2 separate regions of the Homo sapiens genome follow, and region 1 is linked to region 2. The links are contacts of gene promoters, found by promoter capture Hi-C in blood cells and fetal thymus (Javierre and others, 2016). All regions are on one chromosome and are shown on one strand. Each heading gives the region's core, a stretch centred on a gene start or on the middle of the fragment in contact. The rest is flanking DNA. Distances are from core to core; before and after follow the strand shown. Region 1 overlaps CTNNA2 (catenin alpha 2). Region 2 holds the start of REG3G (regenerating family member 3 gamma).

Region 1 (4,778 bases), core at 1,591-4,090, 860 kb before region 2:
ATTAAATGTATTTAAAGATTAAAAAATCAAACATTTTAAATAAACCACATGTTGCTCTAATAAAGAGTTCACTAGATAAGTGGCCTTATTTGGGTCCGAAATTTGAAAAAGTATAACTAATAGATAAGTGACAATCAAAATTATACTTGCCATCACATGTTAGACAATTTTGAATATCATAATCAATTACATCAGTATTCATTATTATATTTGGTACTAACTTGAAATAAAGGTGAAATCAGACCTAAAGAATCTGTCAATATTCTCAAAAGCAAAAATCAGTCACACTAGGAAGAAAACAGATTCTTACATTTTTCGCTGCCTCAAGAAATAACCCAAGATTGGAAATATAATAATTTTGATTAAACCTGATAGGGGGCCAAAAAATCAAGATATAAATTGCAATTATAAAAAAAAGTACTTCAAATTTCATTCTTTTATTTGCTCAACAATTTTTAGAGATCTTTAGTGATTGAAATGCGCAAGAGAAAAGTAAATTGTTTTGGAATATTTCTTAAAGCAAGTAAAAAAATTGAAAGGTAAATGATTCTATCAGAAAATACTCCTAGATTTATAAAACCTTAGGAAAGAAAAGCTGTTTAGAAGCAATATCAGAGGTATCGATAACCTATACAAGAGGTGTCAATAACCCGGAAAGAGATTTCTGGGCAGAAAAGATGGATTCTGGAAAGTGAAGCGGTATAGCTCAGGAAGCAGTGAAGACTATGTTGTCTACGATGATGCCTAACCTGGTCCCCAAGCACCCAGCAGAACCAGCCTTGACTCACCACCCTACCTTGCACTCCTCTTCCTATAAGCTCACATGTATTGCATCTATCTTTATCACCATCCCAGAGGTAGGGATGGTTTTAAGAATTAGCTGGACTTGCATTGCATAACATTAGTGTTCAGAAGGTTGTCATAGGTAGACTAAACACTTTTTGACGGATGACTACACACTGTCCATATTTGCATCCCTTGGGTTTGAGCCCGTATTACATATATAAATTGTAGTATGTTTACAGGGATCTAAGAACCCACAGGAGTGTTTCTTAATGCTTTGTTTGGCCACCAGATGTCAGTGTAGGATAAAGAATGCTGGAACGCTCCTGCTTGTTTCCAGTTAGAAAGAATTGAAAAGGCAGTTTTGATGAGTTTAATTTGCCATTGAAAAAGAAGAAATAAATTTGGAAGGTACTCCACTGGGAGAAGATACGATGAACAGGTGAGGATTTCTGGTTCCCACTAAGCATCAGTTACTGATACTATGCCCTAAAGATGGAAAAGTTTGTCTCCACTTTTCAAAAAAGTATCAAAAAGTTGTTTTTTTCTTTTTTAAGAAGTAAAAAGAGCATGCTAAGCACATAGTAGGAGCCCAATTAAGCACAAACAGATTAACCTAAGTTAGAAAAATCCTAGACTTTGTAGAATTTTGTTTAAGAATATTCAAAATATATAATATCTGCATAAATGACTAGGGATTTAACAATCATACTGATGGGAACGGAAATGAACTAAGAGCCAAAAAAATCAGTGCAAGAAAGTTATATTATGTAAAAACATCAAATTTTCCAAAAAATGACTGAAATTTCTCAAGATTTCATAATTAGACCTAGAAAATGTTTGGTTTTTTAATTAGCTAAAGCTTACATGACAATACAAAACACTATTTCAATATATGGAAATAAAAAGTACAATTCTCATGACCTGTTGATTCTACTTCCTCAGTATGGTTCAGATTCACCCACTTCTTCCTAATTCTACTCTATTGATATACTGCAGACATTCCTAATTTCTCACGCTTATCTGTCTCCCTACTCTGCAGCTTTGCTTCTTCAAACTCATTCTCCCCCCGGCAGCCACTGCAGCCACAGGGATCTTCAAAAACACAAGTCTGGGCCAGGAGCTGTGGCTCACGCCTGTAATCCCAGCATTTTGGGAAGCTGAGTTGGGCAGATCACTTGAGTTCAGGAGTTCAAGACCAGCCTGGACAACATGGCGAAACCATGTGTCTACTAAAAATACCAAAACTTGCTGGGTGTGGTGGTGTGCCTGTGGTCCTAGCTACTCGGGAGGCTGAGGTGGGAAGATTACTTGAGGCAGAGGTTGCAGTGAGTTGAGATCATGCCACTGCACTCCAGCCTGGGTGACAGAGGGAGACCCTGTCTCAAAAACAAAAACAAACAAAACAACGACAACAACAAAAACCCCACAAGTCTGACCATGCCATTTCCTTCTTTTTTTTTTTTTTTTTTTTTTTTTTGAGATGGAGTCTTGCTCTGTCACCCAGGCTGGAGTGCAGTGGCGTGATCTCAGCTCACTGCAAGCTCTGCCTCCCGGGTTCATGCCATTCTCCTACCTCAGCCTCCCGAGTAGCTGGGACTACAGGTGCCCGCCACCACGCCTAACTAATTTTTTGTATTTTTAGTAGAGACGGGTTTTCACCATGTTAGCCAGGATGGTCTTGATCTCCTGACCTCGTGATCCGCCCGCCTCGGCCTCCCAAAGTGCTGGGATTACAGGCGTGAGCCACCGCGCCTGGCTGCCATTTCCTTCTTTAGATCACCAGTAACTTCCTAAGGCCTTCAGCATGAAGCCCAGCCACTTGCAAGGCTGAATAGCTCTTCAGGATTGGTCTCCTATTTGCCCACTTAGACTGACTTTTCCCCATCCTCTGTACCCCAGAAATAATCACTTTATGCAGGCTTTACCCACCATACAACTGCATGCAATGATGATCTTTCTACCTGAGAAATACTCTCATTCACATTTCATCATGTTTATTCTTTCTTAGCCTTTAGATGCAGCTCATTTACCTCCTCTTCCAAGAATTATTCCACAATTTCATCTTGCCCAATTCCACCCCCTTACGCACACATAATAGGTTAAGTGGATACTATATACGTAAGCGTATGCAGCAGCATTTATGCATTGCAGCGTCTATAGCTGTTTACTAAGTATTTTCTCCTTTTACATATGACACTCCCTTATTGTTCTATCTCATCTGGCACATATACACTTTGAATGAATGATCTTAGCTATCTGGTGGCTAAACCTTATCCTAAGAGATATAAAATCCAAGGCCTAGAGATGGGCTTAGTAGCCCATGCTTACACATACTTAGTTATTTGTAGAGCTTGGAGTAGTAGCCAATACCTGAATCCAAGTCCTGGACTCTTTCCAGTGTTCTTGGTTACTTCTATTGGCCATTCAGTGGGAATCACTTCTCAGACACATAGCAGAGATAATTATTATGGAGCATTAATAGAAGGGCCCTGTCATCTCAACTCTTCACCTTCATTCTAATGTAATGTAAGATATAGGAAACTTACAATCTTCATAGCCTAACATGGAGGGTTGCTAGATGTCTGTAGTCAAATGACTTTATAAAATATCGAAGTAGATAAGGCCTGGGGCAAGTTTCCCTGATAAATAAGTATATTGGTTGCTACAGCAAAAGGAAATACTAGAATTGAGAAGGGACAGAACAAGATCCTTGGTGAAAATTTTATTTTCCCAGGAGACACTTATCCTTCCCTGATGTTGAAGAAATCATAAGTCAATAAAGCATATTAAGAATCCATGAGCCAGTCAGAACTCTGGGCCATGGCCCCTTAAGGGACCAGAGCTTACACAGCAGTATCTGTCTGATTCTAGGAACAATAAGAATTGATTATCACAATACTCAAAAAACATAAAAAAGTGGCATTTGAAATGGAGGCACAACAGAAAAACCCTCACTTATTCGGAAGCCTTCAGTGTAGATCTCCTAGGTCTTATATTTGGGCCTCTGACTTACCTATACAGCGTTTCGTTCTCCACTGAAAATGCACTCCAACCCTGGATCTCCAAATACTAATCTTGGGTTGTGAATCCCCTCAAAGGTCCTGCAACCTCTTAATGTCCCTTAAATGGGCTGGGAACCTGAAATGACTGCTGCCATGTGAACTACTACGGCTGAACTTCATTCTTTGGCCTGGAGCTCCTTGAATATCTGTGTGCACCCAGAGAAGCCTACAACTGGGATAAGCTTTGGGCAGTGACCACAGAAGCATGGCCCGTGCTCCCCCAGTAGACAATTATTTTATCCTCACAGTTAGCCTACATACAATTCTTGCCAGCCAGGGATTATTTTTCCGTGCACCAGTCTGAGATGCAGATGTCGCATCACTGCTCATGTTAACATTCCAATATTTCCATCCACTGAATACCAGATCGGAAAGAGAATTACAATTTGACCAAGAACAGAAAAAAAAAAAAAAGCATATTTAAAGAGATGATGAAAAAGGGAAGAAAATGTAAGAAGGTAAAGGCAGGTAGGGAAAATTAGGTAAAAATAGGACGGGGAACTTATGTAGAGTTGCTATACCAGGGTAACATTTCAGCTTAATGTGGTTGAGAATAGAATGTCTTATTCCTCAAGTGCAGATATTTAAATCTTACAAGAGATATTAGTGGTAATAGAAAGAAAGAGGAGGCATGGTCAGTATAATAATGTGCTCCCTTCCAAAGCTGAAGTATTCGAAAAGTAGAAAATAAAAGCCTATCAATTTTGTGAGTGAGTGACAGTCTCTGGAGACACTCAGGTAGAGTGCCTGAGGAGCAGGGAGGAACCGAGGTTAGCATAGAGGATTGTGGATTGTCAGGAAAAGAAAAGATAACGAAAATATGGCAATATGGTAATTTTAGCAGCCCAATGCTTTATTTTCTTTTTAGGTTGTTAGAATTGGAATACATTTTCTGTAGGTTGAGGAGATGGAACAAGTGGAGGAGAAACT
Region 2 (4,807 bases), core at 6-2,505:
GACTGTGTGAAAGATAAGCGTGTTCATCCTCATTCCCAAGGAACTCTCCTGAAGGAGACCCTCCTCCCCCTGAGACCTGCATGGACTTTCCCCTATCACCTCCAACCCCACATCTAACCACTCACATCTGCATCCATCCAGGATTTTGGTGACAAAAACAAGGCATAGCAGGGGGAGCCATAGGCCTTGGAGCCTTTGGGACAGCTGATCCGTGGAGAGGGCAGTTCCTTCTGGGTTTCTTCACCTGGGGTGGAAGAAAAGGGAGAGAGTAAAATGAAGAGTAGGGGGTGGGTGGGAGATGACCTTGGGGAATATCTAGGTCTGCCCTTGGGGAGGAAGACCACATTCCTGACAGCTCTTCATCTTCCCTTGTGTTTTCAGAAGTTCTTTATCTCAAAATAGCCCTACTAAATGGGCCACCATCTAGTCTGTTATTACCCTTTCCCCTTATTCAACCATTCAACACTCTCTTCACTGTGGGCTATCTCTATATTGGGTCCTCCAATCATTGTCCCTCCCCACATCTCATTGCTGACCCTCCACACTTTCCCACCAGTGTATATTAGAGTCCACTGACTAAATGGAAGCCATCTCATTCCATTGTTAGTGGACCACAGTGGAGCCTCCCACTGCAAGTTAACATGAAGGAAGGAGTGATGATGCAGGAACTGCAGGCAGTTTCATTAGACACCACGTCATTACCTCACGTGACACACAGGAGCCTTCCTCCTTTTCTTGGCTCTGAGGATTCATAGGGAACCCAGTGCTAGAGGCAGAGAAATCTCACCTTGAACCTGACACAGGAGAATGAGGCAGGAAAGCAGCATCCAGGACACACTGGGCAGGGCCATGGGAGGCAGCATAGTGTCTGCGACTTGAGGAGGCAATCGGGTCACTAAAGGAAGTGTGGTCAGCGGGAGGACACACAGATATCCTACTGCCTCTTGTCTTTTTCCTTCTGTAGTCCCCTAGGACTGAAGTGATCTTGGTCACATTCATCATCTTCTACAGTTCTGAATGAGCTGTGAATCTGTGTACTCACCCATCCCTGAGACCTCCCAGTACAGCCTTGCTGAGTCTCAGAGCTCCTGTGCTCCCTGAGGAAGGGACCCTCCCATGCGTTCTCCTGTATTATGTGAGGTTGCCCTTCCACAGGTCTCATCTTCTCTCAGCTCCCACTTACCTCTCTGGTGAGATCTGGTATGCTTTGTCTGGTCAGCAAAGACTGGGTTTTTTATAAAAAGATCTCAGGGATGGTCACTGGAGTGAATAACGGCAATATGTAGGCGGGACAGGGGTCATGGAGAGGGCTTGGCATTGGTTCAAAAAGATTATGCCAAGGGGAGGAGACTCTTCCTGGCAAAGGCTGGGAATTGTTACAGATGTTGCCTTTTTCTCTGTAGCAGGCCGGCACTTTCCCCACAAACAGTTGAAGTTTGCACTTTTCCCACCCTCTTCCAGATATCTTCTTCTGAGAAACTTAAGGGAATAAAGGCAGTCTTGTGAGCCTGGTATTATATAGTTTAGAAAATATTATGATATTACATAGTTATGAGAAATGTCAAAAGTTTGTTTTTGATCAACGTGCCAGGAGCTCACTTCTATAGGCATACATATGAATTCCTTTATACCTTATCTAGTAACATTTAAAATAAATTAATAAATAAAAATTGGGTGGGCATTAAAATTAGATGTGTTGGCAAAGACAATGTATTAGTCGAAATAAAGAAACAATAGAAACCAGAAGCAGCAGCACTGGTTCAGTGTTGCTACTTCAACTTCACAGCAAGATGTAAAAGAAGCTTGAAATAATCTTGTGAGTCATTAGGCAAGCCAGGGTCTTATGGAACAGCAGTTAAATAGATTTGCCTTCCAGCTACCTTTGTGTGAGAAGACCAAGAGATAGTTCCTTGGTTTATTGTAGTTCTGCGCTGACAGTTTGATATCTCAGAGTAGCGTTCTTAGATTGTGATCTACACACCAATGGGGGTCTTCAGGGCCTGTTTGGAGTGGTTGTGCAGTTATAATTTTCATAATTATACTAAAGTGTTATTCGTCATTTTCGCTATGTTGACATTTGCACTGATGAGGCAAAATAAATGGTGGATAGAAGTTCTGGTGCCTTAACATCAATCAAGGCAGTGGCACCAAATTGCATTGCTCATATCCACGCACTTGCAAGAAACAAAATAAAGCCATTTTTACTTGAAAATGCCCTTGAACTTGATGAATCAGGGTAGTGAATTGGCTTCAGTAAATCTCAACCCTTGAATACATCTAGAGGGAATATTCTGTATGACTAAATGGGAAGCTGACATGCTAAAGTATAATGGTTGTCTTGAGGGAAATAATTTGTAACACTGAGTTTTAGTTCACTATTTCATGGAACACCATTTTTACTTGAAAAATAAACCAAGACAAACTTCACTTACTGACATATGGGTCTTTTGTTAACATGTTTTCAAAAAAGTTCAAAGTGAGTTAGTAAATGAATATTTTTAACTTTTCTCTTTTACTATATATTATTATAAATATCAATAGCTCACATGAACAAAATTTTTTTTCGAGTGTCCTCAATATTTTTTAAGAGTGTTAAAGGGTCCTGAGATCAAAACAGTTTGAGATCTCTGGTTAACATCTAGCTGGCAATTTCCAGAAAATATAGGACATGGGGATGGTATTATATTACAACACAGGAATACCATCAGCAAAATTTAGAAGGTGGGAAATTCTACAGGACAAATAAGTACATTTCCCCAGCAAGTGAATTTAAGGAAATAAAACAACATCTCACTCTTAACATGTGAAAAATATATCAATCAAATAAAATGTGTGAACCATGTTTGGATCTTGATTTGAACAAATTAAATAAAAAATATAATTATAAAACAATTGGGTAAAAGTGAGCATTTGATAATGTTAAAGGACTATATCATGTTCAGATGTAATTATAATATTGAAATAATATTATTTAAAGTATCCTTATCATTTAAGATACATAACACAATATTTACAGATGAAATGGTTATTCAGAATTTACTTCAAAATAATCAAGCATGATAGAGATAAAGAAAGAGAGAGACAGATAAAACAAGAGAGGACTTGAGGTCATGAGAGTTGTTGCTTGGTGGTAGGTACATAATGATTCATAACACTATTGTCTTTGGGTTTTTATCTAAAATATTGGTGGAAAATTTTGAGAAAAAGAAAAATTCAGGGCCATCGTGAGAAAGAAATTTGAAGGACAATCTGACTCAAGAACACAGATGCAAAGTTCCTGAACAAAACACAAAACAAATTGAATTCATTGTTTTATATAATAAATGAAGAGAAAGAAGAGTTAATCTTGGAAATGTAATGATAGTTTATTATGATGAACTATTAATGCAATTTCCAAGTTCAGAAGTTAAAAGGGAAAAAAATATATAGTCATTTTAAAAGAACAAAATTGTTAAGTGAAATTCAAAACCTATTAGTAACTGATAAAAAGTCTTAAAAACCAGAGTTAGACAGGAATAGCTTTAACACAGTAAAGAAATCTATAGAGACTCAAAAGTAAACTACTGACAAGACTTCCTTAAAAAATCAGAAATATACAAATGTACCACCCTCATTGATTCTATTTAACAATATCGTGTGATAGAAAGTACACTTAGAAAAGAAAAAAAAATTTAAACAGGGAAAAAGTAAATTAAGTTGTCACTATTTGCATATGACATGCTGTCTCCATAGAAAACCCAGAAGACTCTTCAAATTAGTTGTTAGAATTAATGGATAAATTTAGTAAACAAGAAGAATGTGAGATCAACATATAAATCCCAAATGAACATTTGTATTCCAACAATAGAGTTAGAAAGGGTATTTTTAAGAAAGATACTGTTTTTAATAGGAAGAAAAATATAAAGGATCTAGAAATATATCCGACAAAAATAGTCAAGACCATGTAAAACTTTTTAAACTTTAAAGAAGACTTTAATATACGAAGAAATATATCATGTTTTAGAGAGACAGATTCAATATCCTGAAGAGGTTACTTTTCCCTACACAGATGGTCTGTGATTTATGATAGTTCTACTTATAATTTTTCTACCGTATCATGGTGGGAAAGTGATATGCATTCCCTAGAAGGCTTATATCAGATTTTGAATACTGGTCTTTTACTGGGCTAGCAGTATGCAGTACGGTACTCTCTCATGTTGCCTCAGCATAGGCAGCAAGCACTGCCCTGGTGGCAATACCATCTTGAAAGTAAACAGCTGATACTCCACAGTGTACTGTGTTTTCAGATGATTTTGCCCAACCATGAATGCCGGAGGTGTGCCTGGAGGCTATCTTAATAGCTGGCCATCAGAATTGGAAACTGGTACTTTAATCGTCAAGGGCTTGGCCCTTTCTCTCTTCCTCTTGGTAGATCGTTTTGAATCTCCATAATACCAATTGTACACAGGAGAATGAACTTCACTCAATTTTGTCCAGCAGTCCTCAAATTCCAGATAAACTTGAATGTATGGTGGGAGCAGAAGACATGGGTGTTTATCTTCTATTACCTGACTCTATGTCCCTACCTATTCAAAATGATCAGTTATGAATATGAATTTATCATTACTCTCCCCTTCAAACTTTACTGATGATTTCTCCATTATCTACTCTTCTGATTTCCTATTGGTACACAGAAAACTATCCCAAGGTTAGTGGCATAAAACAGTTTGTTATTACTTCTCATGGTTCTGTGAGGTGATTAGGATTGTCTGGGTGGTTCTCCCTTGGAAATCATGCAGTTGCATATAATGGCTGGAACTGGAGTCAT

What was found. The method cuts DNA at HindIII sites, captures the fragments that hold promoters and counts their contacts. A CHiCAGO score of 5 or more calls a contact.
Region 1: a fragment that was not itself captured here is called in contact with the fragment with the promoter of REG3G in region 2 in 1 of 17 cell types (M1 macrophages); the score reaches 5.5 in M1 macrophages.

What each region holds. Positions count from the first base shown.
Region 1 is chr2:79,884,236-79,889,013 of GRCh38, reverse strand. All of the region lies in intron 6 of CTNNA2 (catenin alpha 2), which reads right to left. Among named protein-coding and RNA genes, the nearest start is that of MIR8080, 20 kb to the right of the region's middle. The HindIII fragment of the contact is 2,385 bases long and covers 1,648-4,032 here.
Region 2 is chr2:79,022,150-79,026,956 of GRCh38, reverse strand. REG3G (regenerating family member 3 gamma) reads right to left here and starts at 1,255. Exons shown (of 6, transcript NM_001008387.3): 1 at 1,184-1,255; 2 at 788-974; 3 at 126-244. The coding sequence starts at 863. The HindIII fragment of the contact is 2,965 bases long and covers 1-1,804 here.